4 separate regions of the Homo sapiens genome follow, and all the other regions are linked to region 2. The links are contacts of gene promoters, found by promoter capture Hi-C in blood cells and fetal thymus (Javierre and others, 2016). All regions are on one chromosome and are shown on one strand. Each heading gives the region's core, a stretch centred on a gene start or on the middle of the fragment in contact. The rest is flanking DNA. Distances are from core to core; before and after follow the strand shown.

Evidence for each region. Contacts are between HindIII fragments. The CHiCAGO score rates a contact against its expected background, and 5 or more counts as called.
Region 1: the fragment with the promoter of PRKAR1A here is called in contact with the fragment with the promoter of ABCA5 in region 2 in 1 of 17 cell types (erythroblasts); the score reaches 7.1 in erythroblasts.
Region 3: a fragment that was not itself captured here is called in contact with the fragment with the promoter of ABCA5 in region 2 in 1 of 17 cell types (total B cells); the score reaches 7.6 in total B cells.
Region 4: a contact is called between a fragment that was not itself captured here and the fragment with the promoter of ABCA5 in region 2, in 1 of 17 cell types (total B cells). The highest score is 5.6, in total B cells.

The regions. Positions count from the first base shown.
Region 1 is chr17:68,511,176-68,513,875 of GRCh38, reverse strand. It overlaps PRKAR1A (protein kinase cAMP-dependent type I regulatory subunit alpha), which reads right to left and starts at 1,446. Exons shown (of 11, transcript NM_002734.5): 1 at 1,328-1,446. RefSeq lists silencers at 976-1,485, 1,906-2,265 and enhancers at 1,556-1,645, 1,399-1,972. The HindIII fragment of the contact is 13,629 bases long and covers 1-2,700 here.
Region 2 is chr17:69,325,702-69,328,429 of GRCh38, reverse strand. ABCA5 (ATP binding cassette subfamily A member 5) reads left to right here and starts at 1,297. Exons shown (of 39, transcript NM_172232.4): 1 at 1,297-1,378. RefSeq lists an enhancer at 791-930 and silencers at 1,011-1,390, 1,521-1,610. The HindIII fragment of the contact is 4,188 bases long and covers 1-2,728 here.
Region 3 is chr17:70,166,110-70,168,809 of GRCh38, reverse strand. KCNJ2-AS1 (KCNJ2 antisense RNA 1) reads left to right here. Exons shown (of 1, transcript NR_036534.1): 1 at 1-1,849. Among named protein-coding and RNA genes, the nearest start is that of KCNJ2-AS1, 1.9 kb to the left of the region's middle. The HindIII fragment of the contact is 530 bases long and covers 1,033-1,562 here.
Region 4 is chr17:68,770,755-68,773,454 of GRCh38, reverse strand. No RefSeq gene overlaps it. Among named protein-coding and RNA genes, the nearest start is that of LINC01482, 140 kb to the right of the region's middle. The HindIII fragment of the contact is 159 bases long and covers 1,177-1,335 here.

The DNA.
Region 1 (2,700 bases), core at 197-2,696, 810 kb after region 2:
AATCATTCTAAGATCAGGTCTTTGGCTGGTAGAGATGAGAGAACTGGGCCTAAGGAGTGAAACTGTGTTTTTGTTTGAAACAACTAATGTATTACGAAAACCAAAAAGATAGCCACCGGTAATAGGACAGTATACGAACAGAAATGTACCAAAATTAATGCAGTCACCATGTAAATCCCTGAATAACCAGACTTCACAGTCTTAATATTTTTAATCGAGTTACCCGGATTCTCTATGTGTACTTATTTGTAAAGCCCAACAACCTAGCCTTCCCTCCCCACACACAATTATTTAACTGCTTTAAAACTTTCGCTGCATTGTCTCTATGTAAAACAAAACACTCAGATTCATTCTTTTGAAAATTCAGTTGTGACAAAATTGTTTCGAAAGGATTACATTCTGGGAAATAAATAAAAACACTTTGAGAAACTGTTCCTGATTCAGACCGCACCCCCTTAGACCAGCCAAGTTACGGCTCCCCTAGGGTCATCTTGAGTAAGTGTTTGCTTTCCTCGCTCTGCTAAAAAGACGGATCTCTTGGGAATCTCTCAAGGAGTAGGACGGTCGTCACCACAGGCTCTGAGCTGAAGAGGTTAATAGGTACCGTGTATTTTCTAGAAGAAGGGCAGGAAAATGCCCTTCACTTCACGTAGGCCACGGTCATGACCACAAAATGAAGGGAAGCCGAGACTTCAAGCTACGCCAGTCGGAAGGCCACAGTGGTGGCGAGGAGGCCTCAGGGGGGCAAAATTGGGAAAGGGAGAGAGGTGAAAGGGGACAAGAGGAAATTCAGGAGCCCGACTAAGACCGTCGTGTTGGGGGAAAGATCACTCCGCTATGAAGAGGAAAGGCTACTGCTAGCAATGACGAGTCGTCAAAAGTGGAGAGGAAAACTACCGGCTTACAAGAAGAGCCAGGACCGGCGGACGAGACGATGGCGGACCCCAGTAAAATAGAGCCGTTGTCCTTCAGGAAATGGGGGAGGGTGAGCGAAGAGGCCGCGGCGCGCGGGGGCGAAGGCGGCCGGGGAGGGCCGCGGAGGGCCCAGGGCCCCAGGAGCCGTGGGGTGGGGGCAGCGAGCGCGAGCGGGGCGGCTGGGGAGCCCCGCACCAAAGCCAACGCCCAGACGGCCTTGAGGATGCAGACTCGGAGCCGGGGGCGTGAGGCCTGCGGGGAGGCGCCCGCCGGGCCGGGGAGGGGCAGGGGGTGCGGCCGTCCCCCTGCAGGTCGCTCCCCGTGACGCCATCTTGGATCGGTCCAGCTCCCGCAAACCGGCTGCGAAGCGACGAAGCTCACCTCGCCTGAGCCCCCGGCCGACCCCACTCACCTGGGGACGGGCGGCGGCGGGCGCGAGGCTGCGGGTGCGAGGCGGCGGCGTACCGAGCTCCCTCAGCGCTTTGCTCCCAGCCCCGCTCCACTCTGCGATAGCGGCTAGGCGACAGCTCCACCGGAAACGGCCTGGCCGCAGCCAATCAGCGTTCGGCTACTGACGTCAATGCGCCTCGCTCTGGCCAGAACCGTCGCCTTAGCAACCTTAAGGGCGCAACAGCCCCAGTTCCTCCCCCCTGGTCGCTCTTGGAAGGACCCTCACTCTGCGGTCGTTCGTCTTCCGCCATTCTTTCCATCTTACTCGTCCCTTATCCACAGCAGTTTCCTCACGCCCGCCACTTCTCCTTTCCGCAGTCTCCCTAGCCCGGTTCTCTCCTCCTTCCTGCTCACCTGCCCCTCCTTACCTGTCCCTCTCTGGGTGTCTTGGGTCGCCTTTGTTCCTCCGCCTGCTCTTCGCTCTCTCTCCGCGCAGCTATCGTGCGCTTCCCTCTCGTCCCTCCGCTCCTCTGTCCACCCCACTCTCCCTCCGGCCTCCCTTGACGCCTCTGCCTTTTCTCCCTCCTTTCCACCCCCTCCCTGGCCGACCCACGTGGGGCGTCTCAGATGACAGGTGGGCGACTCCTCCCCGCAGCCCCTGCAAGGGAGGGCCCCGGGCCGGGGCGGGGAGAGTCCTGTCGCTGCCAGCCCCCGGAGGAGGTGGCGGCCCCCGCGGATCTGCAGCAGCTGCGCTGCGGGGCCGAGCGCGGGCGGATGGCCGGGATGCGCTCTCCGGGCCGCGCATCCTGTGCCCGGCCAGCGCCGCCCGGGCCCCGGGCTCAGGTCAGTCATCCGGTCCAGGAAACCTGAGCCCTGCCGAGTCTCCGCTGGGGCCGCTCTCCCCCGCCGGGGGTGCTGTCGTCTGTGCAGGCAACACCGTCCCTGTGGAAACCAGGCACGGGAAAGGACTTTGTCAGGGTCCAAGAGGAGGCCTGAGTCCTTCTAGAACCTGAAGTGCCCCCCCATCACTCCTGACCTCACAGAGGGAGAAGTGCAGAGCGTGCAGATTGTCAAAAATGCCCTGTGACCCAACAAGAAATCGCAGCTGTCCAGACAAGCTGCACTAATGGGGAAAATTCGGAGGAAAAGCGACTTTACTCTTTCAGCCATTTTTTTTTTCCATCAGAGTATCTGTCTAAGGAGGAAGAAAAGGGAGACGGTACAATTTTAGACACATCAAGTCTGTAACTCAATAAAGAAGGCCCATCAAGGAAACATGTCCAAGTGTCTGGCTAGGGGCTGCTTTAGTAGCATTGTATATATTTCTAGGGCCGTGTGCTTAAAATTCATAATGGATTCAACACAATACAAAAAAGCAAAATACACACATATGCA
Region 2 (2,728 bases), core at 48-2,547:
CATGGCTCCCACTGATTCTACATTATGGTGAGTTGTATAATTATTTCATTACATATTACAGTGTAGTAACAGTAGAAATAAAGTGCACAGTAAATATAATGTGCTTGAATCATCCCCAAACCATCCTCCCTCCCCCAGAAAAAACTGTCTTCCATGAAACTGGTCCCTGGTGCCCAAAAGGTTGGGGACCGCTGTTTTAATCATCAAGGATTCTGACGAACCTCTTTGAATTTTCTATTTAATTCATATTCCATAAGTAAAACTTGATTCCTTGTTTGTTTGTTTTTCCCCTAAGAATTTAGAAAGCAGAGTGCATGTTGGGGAGACCTGGTTTAAATTCGAGAAGCAGATAACACAAAGACAAGTAAAAAAAAAAAACATGATGTACACAGGATTGACAGAATAAAAAAAAAGTCTTTGTGCAAGGGAATGTGACTATACAGAAATGTGGAGAGGAAAATACGTAATGTTAGTGTTAATAACTTTTGACCCCATTTAGGTCACTTTGAGTAATGAAGCTCAAAACACTAGATTATATTTTTAGCAAAGTAAGTGCAGTATCCAGTCTCTCACAGATGTCATGTGTCTCAGGCCGTTTGGAAAATTCAGCATCTGCCGCATTCCCAGTCTTTGATGAGGACACTCCGCGAACTACAAGCACCCTCAGTGGGAGGACCTCCCAGGTCGGGGTGTGAGGGCCAATGAGGAGGCTGGGGAGGGGAGGCAAGAGTTACGGAAACGGGGCCACAGCACTCCAGATGCCGCGGCGGGAGGAAGCGGGGCTGCAGAGGACTCAAAACGCGTTCAGAGAGGCCCATCCAAATGCCAGGAGACAGACGGCAAGGATGCTTAAGAGGAGACGTGACTGGGCGAGGCAGATGAGGAGAGGGCCGTGGGCCAAGGTCACCCGCTAAGAGGCGGCAGGTTTACCACTGAGACACGAGGCCGTGGTTTTTGCCCGTGCCTCCAGAAAGAGCGTGGCGAGATCCCCGCAGAACCCAGGCGTGGGAGGCCCTGGGGAAGAGCCACGAGGCCCGACTCTAGTGGCTCAGGGGCCCTGGGCAGCGGCGCGCCACCGCTCGCCCCACCCTCAGCCGCTCTCCTCTTCCGGGCGCGCTGCTTGCCTGCGTGCGCCGGGACGCGCGGGGCCGAGCGTCTGAAGCGCGCCCGTACGCGGAGCGGCGCTTTCTAGGAGCCCCGCCCTCAGGTGCGCTCTGCAGGAGGCGGGGCGCGACTTCGGCGCCGCCAGCTCTGCCTGCGCCAGGAGCGCGCGGGTGCGCGCGGCCGCGCCCTCGCACAGATCCCAGCTGGGTCACCCGCACTGAGTCAACAGACTGAGCGCGTCCAGGCCTGACAGCTCTGCGGCTCGGGCCCTGAGGTGAGGCGGGCGTCGCGGGCGGCGGCGGCGCTTGAGGCTAGCCTGGGACAGCCGTCCCTGGGGGAGTTGAGGGGACGAGGAGGGGCTGGCCAGCGAGGGACGGCGGGGAGAGAAGGGGAGTTCGGCGTCTGAGGTGTGGGGTGAAGCGGGCTCGGAAGCGGGCAGAGGCGGCGAGCTGAGGGAAACAGACCTCCCTCAGCTCCCGGGAAGCGCGGGTTGCCAGCCTCGGGGATGCGGTGGGAGCGCCCAGGATGCGGACGTGAGGGGGTCGGGGCCCTGCGGCGGGGGCTCCGCGAGGCTCCCCTGGGACCGGGTCCGGCCGTGGGACTTCGGGACACTGCCTTTGCCTGGACGCTGTCGTTCCACCCTCAGCAACCTCAGGGAAAGAAGGAAAACAAATATTGATGTAAATTTCCGTCTGAACAGCTGGGTAATGAGCGCTTGCTCTTCCCTGCGAGGTTACGCGCGGATCATTACCTTGCGTGTTAAAAGGAGTTTCAGTGAGAAGAAAATGCGCAGATCTCATGACACAGTTTGGGAGGGAAATTCCCTGATCCTAAAACACGAATAGGAGCTCCAGGCATGGAAATACTTAATTGGATCGGAAAGCTGGGCAGGCTGGAGCTATTAAGCTGAAGGAGGTTTTCCCCTGGGCTCCTCAGGCTTCGATTTACGTTTTAAATAAATAAGTCCGAAAATAATGAAGATAATAACCACGTTTACTTTCTACAAGGGCGTTCTGAAGGAATCTAAGGGAAGAGGAGTATTTGCTGGACTACAGCTTTAAGCCAGGCTCGGTATTAGCTCTTTTCATTCTGACAGCAACCCTGTAGGATTGGAGGGGGTTATTCCAGTTGGGCAGGTGTGGAGAATGGGCCTCAAAGAGGTTAAGTAACTTATTAAGGTCTCAGCTAGTAAAAGGATGGAGTTGAGATTCCAACCCGGGCTGCCAGACCCTAATTCTGGTGCTTTATTTAGTATATTTTGTGTTTGCCGGGAGAGCAATATTGTATGTGTTTTAGGGAAGACTCCATAGTAGGGAACATTATTAGGGCAGTTAGGGCTTTGTGGGTATTTGTGTTAAAATCAAACTAAAGAGGCGTTAATCTTTGCATATGTGCTGTTTGAGTATATTTCCTTTCAAACAGATTTAGTGTAGGGAAATCTTACATTCACTATAAGAGCAAATTTATTAGTACATTCCATGTGTATTGCATGTCTTTTATTTTTAAAGAGACAGCGTCTCGGGCTAGAGTGCAGTGGTGCGATCAAAGTTCACTGCAGCCTTGAACGTCTGGACTCTAGGGACCCTGCTGAATAGCTGGGGCTACAGGCGTGTGTCACTGCGCC
Region 3 (2,700 bases), core at 48-2,547, 840 kb before region 2:
TTGTCCGCCCTCAGTCTCTCCACCACCGCCCGGCACGCTTTGCTGATCTAAAATCAGAACAATTAGAGAGTAATGATTTTTTTTGGAATAGCAACTCCTACAGACACTCAGATCTGCCCTCGCTTCAGCGCCTCCCAGCCCTCCTTCCCAGCAGCCAGGCGAGAGCGCGCAGACCCCTAAAAAGCAACTTCAGTGTTAACCGGGTCTGGATCCTGGAACTTTATAAACTAATCCGTGTGTGTGTGTGTGTGTGTGTGTGTAAACCGAAGAGTAAGTGCCTATTATTTCTGAGTACTTCGGTGTCCTAACGAAGCTTTGCTCCTAAAGGACAGGATATATTTTAGGAGTCTTTCTTTCCACTGAGTTTTTTAAATGTTTATTTTCTCGAGCGATCAAATGTGTCTTTTGTGCAGTTTATTTAAACCTCGTAAGGCCTCCTTGAGTCGCTGAACTAATTCAGCAAACTAGCTGGTATTGTGGACGGCGCAGTCGGGGTGGATTTTTGTGTGTAGGAGAGGTGAAACTGACAATTCAAGGAAAGGTTCTGTGCGAGTCCCCACCTCCCATCCTCATATCCACACGTGGCCCCTAGGAGGTGCTGGTGAAATATGCTTGCTTAGGTTTCGCAGATCCGCACTTACTCCTGCCTTAACAAGTGTGCCTTTTTTCTTAGCACTGAGCAAGGTACTTAAATTAAAAGGGTGTGCAAGAGATGATGCACTCGGTGTGGCTGCTCTGATAGCCAAATGGCGATGTGGTCCCAGTTAATGTGTTGAGATTATACTGTTCACCAAGCCCTGTTACGAACTCTGTTGCCATGCACGTGGGAATAATGCCTGCCCCAAGGGAGGTCTTCTTTAACATCTATTTAGTCATGTGTTATTTATAAACAGCTTGAATTAATACTGTAAAATAGACGGATGTCTAAGAATCTAGGCTGTAGCCTAAAGCTAAATGAACCTGAGGGTAGACAAGTTCACTCTGTATTAACCAAAGGATAATGAATGAGTTCACCGCTCAGTTCAATAAGCTTCTTCTGAAATATGCTTCCTCCTGGACTTCTAAGAAACAGGCCAAAAGTTTAATTATCCCTTAAAACATGTTAAGCCTAAATAGAAAAAGGAAATTAATCATTTATAGATTTTCTCTTCTTTATTATGATTCAGTTGGTGCATCTGTAGATGGCTAAGAATTTTCCAAACCACGTGAATTCAGAGAGGCAACACTTTTGTTGTTGTTGTTTTTCCAGGTAATGAGCTCGCTTTGAAAACCAGTCACTCGGAAAGGGATGGCATTTTTATGCAACTTGGATTGAAATGGTTTTGCTTTAGTATTCTACTCTAATTAGAAAGAATACACCACAGGCCGAAATAGTTTCATATGATAGGAAAATCTTTAAAGAAAGGAACACAGAGTTATTAGATTATGGTTGGCTGTATAAATTTAGCTGGGCAGCGGGAGGAAGGTCATAATAAATGTATCCTGCTCTCTCTCATCAATTATCAGCAGCACATCCCCCAACATTCTCTCCTCCCAAAGACTGAAGGATGTGCAGCAAAGCTTAGATCTTGAAGGAGAAGGTTCGGGAAAAATTAATGATTTTAATTAGAACTTTCCAATCTAAGTAGAATCATTACCTTAATTAGCTAAATAAGGAAGTATGAAGGATGAAATTTTGCAAATGAAATTTTGTAAATGTATGGTAGCGTAGAATACCCCCATTGCTTCATTTTAAAAAAAGAAAATATAAATGCATTTTAATTAATAAATGACTTTTCATCATGTCCCTATTAGGAAAATTCTGTGTGCCAATGCTTTCAGTGTTTGATTTAATACATCTTTTGAAGTGATGCGTGATGCAGATTTCTGTATTCAGAGTCTATCTTTTTTGGCTGAATCAGGCCTTATTTAGCAAAAATCCCCATTAGTCTTGGACACGAATGCAATTGGGTGTTGGGATCCATCTGTGGATTAAATTTTTCCAAGGAAATGACAATTATGCTCTTACTGATTCTCTCCACGGTAACCACCTATAATATTAGAGCCAAATATTAGTCACAATCTGGATCTGCAGTCAGATTGTGAATAGCTGTGTGACGCAGAAGGTGATTGTTTCACTAGAAGCACAGATCTTTCCTTTGCATTTATATAAAGATCCCCAACAATTAGACATACTTTCAGACTTACATTAACCATGTATATGCAGTTCAAATTCACAATGGTAAAACATCAAACGCTCCTGGCATTTGTATCCACTGGATATTAAAAACCACTTTCTAATCTTCAAAGTAATCATCATTAGCAATAAATAGTAAATAAATCATTGTCAGATTGCCCGGAAATGTAGACAGGCTGAGTTTGCAATCTGCTGCTATGAGAACAAGCCACTTACTGTGGTATTTTAAGGCACTGTATGTAATCTTATTTATTGGAAAACAGTTTTGGCCTTTAGTTTCACTTACTGCATTGATAATATTTAATCTTCATATTTTTAAATTCAGTGAACGTATTTGTTGAAATAACTACGTTGTACTTTGGCTATATGCTAGGTGAGATGAAAGACAGAAGTGTCCTAGCGGGAGTAATTCCTCTTCTTAAGAGTTCAAAATGTCTAACTGAGAAGATGAACAAGGCAGAAGTGAAACATTTAAATGATTAAACAACAATATAAGGCAGCTTATGATTATGCACTAAAATGGA
Region 4 (2,700 bases), core at 7-2,506, 550 kb after region 2:
ACATGAACTCATTCTTTTTTATGGCTGCATAATATTCTATGGTGTACATGTGCCACATTCTCTTTATCCAGTCTATCATTGATGGGCATTTCGGTTGGTTCCAAGTCTTTGCTATTGTAAATAGTGCTGCAATCAACATACTGTGCATGTGTTTTTCTAGTAGAATAATTGTCAAATGCTGTTGGAAGCAGAGATCCCATATCCTTTCTACCATTTTTGGCCCAACCTAAAGTGCCATCTATGGGGGGATAGTTCTGACTAAGAAGTGTTTATTTCAAGAGATGTCAGAGAGAAACTATACTTTTGGTTTCATGGGAAGTCTTTACTTCCATGCAAGGATGCTGGAACAAATTTTTCCAATCTTTTTTCACTCTGCTATGGAAAAATCTACATGCAACCAAGGAGGTGCTCATTGTCCCTTCTGCCCATGCTGAGCAAAGGATGAGATGCTTTCTGTTCACAAATTGCTACAACCACAAAGTGTGACAAAATAAGAAATTTGAAAAGTAAAAGGGCCAGACGAAAAATTCAAAGAACTTTTCTTGGGCTCCCTTTGAAAATAAGAGCCATTGCTTTCTGTACCTCAGTAAGTCTTGTACTTTTGCACATTTCTAAGACACCTTTGGACTTTTACAAAGAAGTCTTTGCCCCCACCTGCCTCTAGGGACTTGTGTAATCACAAATATTCTAAAGGTATACACATTCATTGAATTTGTGGTGGCCACATCCTTCTGTTCATCTAGCTATGATTATGGAGAAGAGAAAAGTCTCAGAGGAGTTCAATCTGAAGCTTGGACACACCATTTGTGCCTCTCTTTGGGATCCTGGAAAAAAAAAAACCAAGGATCAGAAAGCTGAGGTGATGCCCTGGGCAGGATTCCCCCAAGTAAACTTCCCACCTCATCCCCCTAGAAGTTTGCTCTCCAAAAGTTGAAGAAGGCTCTCCTTTCTATGTCACTGGGCTCTAAGCACTGGGATTACCAAAGTTTATTTTCAACAAGCCTTAAAATCTAACCCCTTATTGGCCTTGTGAACAGGGCAGGCCTCTTACAGAGGGTAGAAGCGGAATGGAACGACACACATTCAGCCTGTACTGGAGATTGTGGTAGCCACTCGGCCTCATGAGCAAATTCCCAGCTCTCACTGTTAACATCCTCCCACTTCTTCTTACAAGCTTCTCTCTTGCTTTCACTCTGTCTCAATCTTTCTTAAAGTGAAATCCTCAACTCTAGCCCCAGGAATCTAAAGGAAGAGATTCTAGCAATAGTCAAGGCTATCATCGATGATTTCTCCTCTCCAGTGGGCATTTACAGTCAATACTGAACCCAGAAAGCTTTCTTAATTTCTGCCCTCTTGGGATGTCGCTCCTTGGACTTACTGATGCTTTTCGAATAGTGAAAACATTTTAGGCAAGGGGAAACATTGCCCTCTACAGGGCGTATGAATCTCAACGTTTTAAAGGCCATCACTCAGCAGCACAGCACATGTGATTTTCAGGGATTCTTCATTCTTCCTCTACTTTTAGGTTAATACAGCTGGTGACAATCTTTTTTTTTTTATTTTTTATTTTATTTTATTTATTTATTTTTTTTTTGAGACGGAGTTTCGCTCTGTCGCCCAGGCTGGAGTGCGGTGGCGCGATCTCGACTCACTGCAAGCTCCGCCTCCCGGGTTCACGCCATTCTCCTGCCTCAGCCTCCCGTGTAGCTGGGACTACAGGCGCGCGCCACCATGCCCGGCTAATTTTTGTATTTTTAGTAGAGACGGGGTTTCACCGTGTTAGCCAGGATGGTCTCGATCTCCTGACCTCGTGATCTGCCCGTCTCGGCCTGACAATCTTGTTGGCTAGAATGACTTCTGCACACATTTATTGCTCATGTATAAAGAGAAAGAGAACGCCAAGAAAAAATTTTAAAGTTCCATTCTTTTTGCAAAAACGTGTTGATGCAATACTTCCCAAAATCAGGCGAAGGTGAGGACATTTTGAACTTGAAGTTGCTGAGGGTCCTTCAGTGGTGCTGGGAAAGCTAAATCCTGTCAGTCCATTTCATAACACCACACAGCTAACAGGAAAGGGAGTGTCATGGGTTTTTCAGGTTTTCCTTCCAGGTCCTGTATAGAAAATAAGAAGCTATGTCTCTGCATAGCAAAAGAAACTACCATCAGAGTGAACAGGCAACCTACAGAATGGGAGAAAATTTTTACAATCTACCCAACTGACAAAGGGCTAATATCCAGAATCTACAAAGAACTTATACAAATTTACAAGAAAAAATCAAACAACCCCATCAAAAAGTGGGCAAAGGATATGAACAGACACTTCTCAAAAGAAGACATTTATGCGGCCAACAGACACATGAAAAAATGCTCACCATCACTGGCCGTCAGAGAAATGCAAATCAAAACCACAATGAGATACCACCTCACACCAGTTAGTATGGCGATCATTAAAAAGTCAGGAAACAACAGGTGCTGGAGAGGATGTGGAGAAACAGGAACACTTTTACACTGTTGGTGGGACTGTAAACTAGTTCAACCATTGTAGAAGACAGTGTGGCGATTCCTTAAGGATCTAGAACTAGAAATGCCATTTGACCCAGCCATCCCATTACTGGGTATTTTCCCCAAGGATTATAAATCATGCTGCCATAAAGACACATGCACAAGTATGTTTATTGCGGCACTATTCACAATAGCAAA